Regions from separate parts of the Homo sapiens genome. Here region 2 is linked to region 1. Evidence: promoter capture Hi-C in human tissues and cell types (Jung and others, 2019). All regions are on one chromosome and are shown on one strand. Each heading gives the region's core, a stretch centred on a gene start or on the middle of the fragment in contact. The rest is flanking DNA. Distances are from core to core; before and after follow the strand shown.

Region 1 (3,612 bases), core at 822-3,321:
ATCTCTCTCTGTCTCTCTGTCTCTGTCTTTGTCTCTCTCTCTGTCTCTGTCTCTCCCTCTCTCTGTCCCTGTCTTTCTCTGTCTGTCTTTCTCTCTGTCTCTCTCTTTTTTCTCTGTCTCTCTCTCTCTCCCTGTCTCTCTTTGTCTGTCTCTCCCTGTCTCTGTCTCTGCCTTTCTCTCTCTGTCTTTCCCTCTCTCTGTCTCTGTTCCTGTTTCTCTTTCTCTGTCTCTGTCTCTCCTCGTCTCTGTCTCTACCTCTCTCTGTCTTTGTCCCTGTCTCTGTTTCTGTCTTTGTGCCTGTCTCTCTTTCTCTGTCTCTCCTTGTTTCTGTCTCTCCCTGTCTCTCTTTCTCTGTCTCTGTCTTTCTCTCTCTGTCTTCCCAAGTCCCCACCCTTCCCTCCAATCTGCGCTGTGCTCGGAAGCCAGGAGTCCTTAAATGCAAACGTGATCTCTTCCTTCTGGCCTCCCTTTCTGAGTTCCTGTGTCCTAGGGGCAAAGGTCAGGCGCCTAAACTCGCTCATCTCTGAGTGACGCCCCCAGCGCCTTCATCTCCATTACTCAGCGAATGTCGATGAGCCCTGTGCAGGGTGGAGGTGGGGGCGGGGGCGGCTCTGGGTCCTTATCGCCCAGCGGTGCAGACTGAGATAAAGGAACCAGGAGGCTAGGGAGAAAGTCCCATGCCTGCCGGGAAGGCCCCGGCTATGGAAGGAGCCATGTGGGCAGTGGGGGCAGGGGGCCAGCGAGGGCCCCCAGGGAGGTGAGCCCAGAGGCTGAAGGAGGCAACGGGAGGAAGGCCTGGGGAGGCGCAGGGTGTGGCACCGTCCCTGGCCTCAGGAAGGCTGGTCCGGGATTCCAGAGCTTGAGGTCTCCTAGATGGGAGAGACGTGAGGGGAGGCCCAAGTGGGGGCCCAAACGGGCAGCGCCCGACAGAGGATGGCCTCCAACTCCCTGTGCGGAAAACCAGGAGAGAATCCCACTCTGGCTTTGGAGACACAACCCCCAGGATCCTCTCCTGAACTCCCCGCAACGTTCCTCCTGCCCCTCCTGGACCCCGTGGTCAGCCCTGTGGCTTCCCTGCACGGCCTCTTTGCTGGGGAGCAGGAACACCATCTCCTTCGCTGTCCCATGCCCGGCACAGGACTGCCCCCCACAAAGTGCTCCACAGAAGGACAGAAACCGTGCAGTCACCGGGAAGGTGGGGATCTGGGGTGGCTGCAGGTTCCATGACACAGGACCCTCCATCCCCCGTGACCCCAGAGGGCCCTTGGGGACGAGGCTGCCCTAGAGGGTGGCTCTGGGTCCTGAACCTATGGCCGGGAGCTGAACTCCTCCTGCTCGATGTTCTCCAGCTCAGCCAGGGATGGGATCCGGGCATCCAGGCTGGGGTTGGGCAGCGTGAGCTGTTCATTATGAAGTTCATTACGAACCCCAGAATGAAACTGTGGCCCAGGGGGCACAGCCACGGGAACCCCACTCTCAGGTTGATTCAGGCCACATCCCAAGGAGCCGTGGTTCCGTGGGGACTGGTGGGAAGCCGGGCCCCCGAGCAGCCGTCTAGAGCCCAGAGCCAGGCTGGAGGGGTCCAGGGCCTCGCTGTGCTTGGTGTGAGCAGACCAAGAGCTGCCCCAGGGCCCCTGCTCCCGCTGAGTTCCCTCTCCCTGGACTGGGGTGGGGGCCGGGGATGCCTGTGCTCCAGGGAGCTGTGGAGAGGCCCACCCGGCGTCCTGCAGGTGGGGGTGTGCGGCAGCCAGGGGCTCCCAGACCGGGGCAGAGCCAGCATCCTGTTTGCCTTGGTTCTTTCTCCCCGGGGTGCACCGGCGTTTGTACGCATTTGTGTGTGCGTTTGTGCAGGGGGAGGGGTGGCCAGCGCCCACGGAGCAGCCTCCGGTTGCCCGAAGGCAGTGGGTGGCTCTGCTGGCCCCGGGGCCGGGCGTCTCTGCAGATAAGGCATTAACAGTCCCTCCGCAGACGCACCCTGCAGATCTGCTGACGACTGGCTCCGTTCTGCCCAGGTGCCTGGGGCGAGGTGCCAAAGGTTCTCTATAAAGTGCCCGGCTCCCGGCCCACGGCCACTCGCCCTCCAGCTTCTGCCCTGCCTGCTGTGTGCGGAGCCGTCCAGCGACCACCATGGTGAGGCTCGTGCTGCCCAACCCCGGCCTAGACGCCCGGATCCCGTCCCTGGCTGAGCTGGAGACCATCGAGCAGGAGGAGGCCAGCTCCCGGCCGAAGTGGGACAACAAGGCGCAGTACATGCTCACCTGCCTGGGCTTCTGCGTGGGCCTCGGCAACGTGTGGCGCTTCCCCTACCTGTGTCAGAGCCACGGAGGAGGTAGGCTGGCCGGGCGGGGCTGCGGGCGAGGCCGTGGCCAGGGAAGCACAGACACACGCAGAGGCCCTGGGCAGACATCCTCCCCGGACCCTCGGCTCCCCAAGCACGGAGGGGAGAGGAGAAGCCGCAGGGTGTGGGGGGAGCTGGGGCCCCCACGGGCCCCCGTGCCCGGTTCCTAGGCTGCTGGTGAGGAGATGGGCCTGGCCGGCACGACCCCAAGACTTCGTGTGGGGCTCCAGGGAGGGCCCTGTGTTCCAGACTGGCAGTCCTGGAACGTTCTGGCCTGAGGGTGGGGCCGGGGGAAGGGTGTTTCTCCCGGTACAGCCCCTCCTCGGAGGACGCGGGGCTGGGCCCTCCTGGGCATCACCTCTCGTCCCAGCCCCACAGGCGGACACCTGCCAGTGCAGGGAGCAGAGGAGGTAGCTGGGTTGGGGGCAGGTGACCCTAGAGGAGCAGAGTGGGTAGCCGGAGCCTGTGGACTCGGGCCTGGCTCTTGAGCCAGGTGCCCTCAGGCCTGGAGGCCGGGAGCCGCTGTGCCCACCCAACACACAAGCCTGACTGCTCCTCGTTCCTCTGGCTCCTGCGGCCCAGGTAGGCATGGCCGCTGCTGGCACAGAGGTGACATTTGTGTTCCTGCCCAGTGGTCCTGAGCATCTGAGAAGTGGCTCCCAGGCCTGGCAGGGGGCTGTACCTAGGACCCCCACACTTGAACTCAGCCTTGGGCTTGGCGAACCCCAAAGCTGCTGCCCTCATAAACCTGCTGCTTTCTCAGCGGAAGGTCCAGGAGGGCCGGGCACCCTTGGGAAACAGGCTTCCTGCTGCCCTGGGGCAGTTCACGGGGGGGCCGTGAAGGTCTCAGCCTCCGTTTAGAGGAGTCTGCCCTCAGGGGGCCCTGTTCCTTCTCACCATGGAGAGCTGCTGTCTCTCACGCGGGCTTTGTGATGTGAAGGTTTTTAAAGAAAAACAGAAATGGGCTTTTCCTGAATCAGTTTCGCCTCCAGCATTGTCAAGGAGTTGATCACTGCCTTGCGGGGGTGGGCGCTTCATGAGCCTCTGGTCCAGCCTGCACTTTCCACTGGAGGCAGGTCGGGGGACCTTGGCCACTCCGATACTATAGTCCCTGACAGTCCCCAAGTCTCAGCTCACCAAAGCCTCAGGGGACTTCCTGGCCACTGTCCTCGCCCCCTCCCCCAGGGCCCTATCCTGTGGGGAGGATCCCTGCGCTCACCCACACCCTGAGTTTGTTTAGCTTGGAGGAGAAACTGAGTCACAGGCTCACATCC
Region 2 (3,652 bases), core at 699-3,198, 240 kb before region 1:
CAGGGACTTGAAGCGAGGACAGAAAATACTCCCCAGACAAGGGCAGACACAGGAGGGAACAATGCCTGAGGACACAGGCCTGAGGCAGGCCAAGCGCTGCCACGCGTGGACTGGACGAAGGCCTGCTAGGCATGGCCTGGCTGGAAGTGAAGAACCGAGGCAGCACCTCTGGCTTGGAGGGAGCAGGTGGGAGCCCTTGCACTGGCTTCCTCTCCCCTGTTCTTATTCTTCTGGAATTAGGGAGGCTGCTGGGAGGTAGAGGAAGCACCTGCCCCAGTCCTCAGAGGACAGAATCATGCGAATGCTTAGTTACCGAGACCTCCTTCCCACCTGCACGCCGGGCCAGTGGCTCTGCCCGTGACAGCCCCGGGCCTGGCCTGTGCTCAGCACTCATCACTCTTGGGTCTTCCAGGCCATGGTGGCATTGCACGCCCTGCCCTAGGTGTGGGGTTGTTTCATGTTTCAGAAGCCGAAGGACCTGCCCTCCCTCTCATCTCAACACAGCGCCTGGCAGAGAAGCAGTTCCTCTGTCTACTCCAGGGGCTCACACGCCCCTCTGTAGCCCGAAAGTCGGCCTCGGATGTGATAAGCCAGGAAACTCCCTGGTCACCAGTGCATAAGCCCTCAGGGGCTCCAGACGCAGCAGCTGGTTCAGAATTTGTTATCCTGGACTAAAGCCTCCCCTTGCACCACCGTGGGGGTGGAAGGAGGTGGCTTGTCTGAGAAACACCAACATGGACAGGGACGTTCACTGTCACAGAGACAAGGCCTGGCCCCACCTCCCCACAGGACTCCCTCCCCAGTGCCTGGTCTGACGGCAGAACCAGGCAACACCCAGTTCCGCTCCCCTCACCCTTGCCTTCAGAAGCAACAGATAACGGCAAACCCTTGCGTGCAGCGACCACATGAAGACCGCAGCTGCGCGGGCTGTAGTTTCTTACCCTCTGTCAGCACGCACGGCTCTCCAACAGATGGGCGATTTCAAGTTGCTCTGCATCTTAAATGACCCCTTGATAAAACCCCAAACGGCTTTGGATGGGTCTGTTTCCTGTATCTTAAGCACAGAAAAAACAGCCCAGATGTTTCTGATTCATTCAAGCTTTAGTTCAAGAGCACGCTCTGCCGTGGGAGTTTCTTTGAAACTGAGGAGACACACAGGCCCTTCCTCCACTCCCTCCTGCCTGGCTGAGAAAAGGGACTTGCTTGCAGCCACCTGAGAGCAAACAGCACAGGTGCATGGAAGAGGGTCCCGCAGAGCCCTGGGGAGCCCGGCTGGGGACTCTGGGAAGCGGACGGCATCCACACGTGTCCACGCATTCATCGTTGGTACGAGATCCAACTCCCTACCTCCCGGGGGTGCAGAACGCAGGGTCCAGGGAGACGGCAGCCACCTTGGGGAGGATTCGGCCTTGTGAGATAGCAAGGTCCTTCCCTCAGTGGTCGTGGCCTCCCCAGAGTCCTACACCCCTCTGCTCTGCCCCCAAAGCCTGCACCCCCTTTAGAGGCCCCCTGAGCATGGAGACGGGTCCGTGTACCTGAGATCTGCAGGCACACAAATGTATCTGCAATGCTGCCTCGGTCAGCTGTGTCACATGGTTCTGCGGCTGCTCTGAAAATGGCCATTAGGTGGGAGTTTTTCTTTCCTTTTTCCTCTCCCCTTCTCTGTTATTGATTTAGAGACTTCATGCAGAAATTGAATAGGAGGAAGGGGGTGACAGTCCTCTGAGACCTGAAATCTCAGCCACGCCACGAGTGGCCGAGGGCCCAGGTCTGGTGACCAATGGTGAGAAGGAGTCATCTCTCAGAACGAGGCCCAGACAGTGCCGGGAACCAGGGGGTCCCACCAGGCACAGGCAGAACCAGCACGGTGCCTCCCCAGAGTCCGGTGACCTGAGGAGCTGCCAGGACGGCCAGACCCCAGTGAGTCAGTGACCACCAGGACGGCCAGGCACTCTCAGCAGCAGAATTCAGGCTGCATTCATTTTCTCCAAGGAGTGCAGTGTGGGTTCGGACAGTTTGAGCTCAAGCATTAGGGCTCTGTGGAGCAGGATCACAGCTAGTTATTGGGAAATCACCAAAAATGCATCGATACACAATTCTAGGTTCCAAACAAGAAGAGAAAGGACACTTTCGCTTTTAAAAGAAGGAAGATACAAAGCCTGGCAATGAACAGAAGTTTACAGAACAGAAAAATATGGGGTTAAAAACAGCCATTGGAGTCTTCCCAATTCTCATTCAGAGAGGGTGGCATGAAAGCCAACAGAAATCGATGTTGATAGGAAACAAGTGTCATCAGAGAAGGTAAGGGCATTCGCAGAGGGAATAATATTATTTGTGAACTGTCATGGCATGGCCGTTTTTAAACTTATCTTCACAGCATCTCTCCTCATAAGCAAGAGCATGAAGAGCACGGAGAATGTCTGTTTGGTGGCCGACAGCCATCACGGGGTCTCTACGTGCCGGCCAGTCCTCACCTCGTTTGCACGCGTTTATGAACTTAGCCCTCCCTCCGCACCATGAAGGGGCCCTTATCGTCCCGTTTCACAGGTGTGGAGACAGAGGCTCGAGGGGAGAAACAGCCCTGGCGGGCGAAGGCAGAGCTGAGCTTCCGAGAAGGGCCTCCTGTGTTCAGAAATTCCAAAGGAGAAGTAGAAGTTGTCCTGTGGGCAGGAGGGGAGGGAGAAACTCCCAGATGACAGGTGCGAGCCGCGGCCTCGTGCTGACATCTAGAACCGGATGATGGGAGCGAACCGCGGCCTCGTGCTGACGTGTAGAGTGGGAGGGACCCTGGCATCCAGGGGCTTCTTTCTTGGGGAAACACCAAGTATAGAAAGTCAACCATCGTTGTCTCTCACGTAGGATTAACTGTTGCTTTTCAGCTTTTTTACACTTATTTTTTGTTAAGCTATGTCACTACACTTTTTTTTCTGAAATAACGTTAGACTTATGGAAGAGTTGCCAAGATCGTCCAGGAGTCCCCGCCCCCTTCAGGCAGCTTCCTCCCGTGTCAGCACCTTGCATACCCGACCTTGACCACAAGGATTGAGGCTAAGAATTAACACGGGGCAATTAACTACACAGTAGCTTGATTCAGATTCCTCCAGTTTCTGGTAACATCCACCTCCTGCTTTAGAAACAACACTGAGTTCCATGAGCACGCAGGTGTCATCTCGCTGTAGGCTCCAGCCCACGGCAGGCCCCGTGTTTCCTTGCCTCCCATGGCCTTGCCACTTGGAAGAGCACTGGCTGGGTGTTTTGAAGAACAGCCCTCAGTTTGAGTTTGCTATTTTATCATGTCTGGATCGAAGTTATGTGTCTGTGCCAAGAAACTGGCAGAAGCCCCATACCCTGCTCAGCGTCCGCAGTAGTGACTCACGGGCCCTATGCTTTGCCTCATTATGGGTTGTTTTGGCCCTGGTCACCTGGTTCTGGTGGGATCTGCTGGCTTCCCCCACTGTAACGTTACTATTCTTCATTTGTAATTTATTTATTTGTATTTACTTATTTTGAGATGGGGTCTCTCTCTGTCCCTCAGGCTGGAGTGCGGTCGTGCAATTTTAGCTCACGGCAACCTCTACCTCCCGGGCTCAAGCAATCCACTCGCTCAGCCTCCCAAGTAGCTGGGACTACAGGTGTGTGCCACTGCGCCCAG

The links. The method cuts DNA at HindIII sites, captures the fragments that hold promoters and counts their contacts. A contact is called where the count stands out against the background at its distance.
Region 2: a contact is called between a fragment that was not itself captured here and the fragment with the promoter of SLC6A19 in region 1, in 2 of the 25 tissues and cell types used here (H1 embryonic stem cells and mesenchymal stem cells).

Annotation. Positions count from the first base shown.
Region 1 is chr5:1,199,524-1,203,135 of GRCh38, forward strand. It overlaps SLC6A19 (solute carrier family 6 member 19), which reads left to right and starts at 2,072. Exons shown (of 12, transcript NM_001003841.3): 1 at 2,072-2,329. The coding sequence starts at 2,128. The HindIII fragment of the contact is 17,186 bases long and covers 1-3,612 here.
Region 2 is chr5:963,158-966,809 of GRCh38, forward strand. LOC124900931 (a long non-coding RNA gene) reads right to left here and starts at 1,004. Exons shown (of 2, transcript XR_007058676.1): 1 at 942-1,004. RefSeq lists enhancers at 433-592, 2,179-2,680. The HindIII fragment of the contact is 5,091 bases long and covers 1-3,652 here.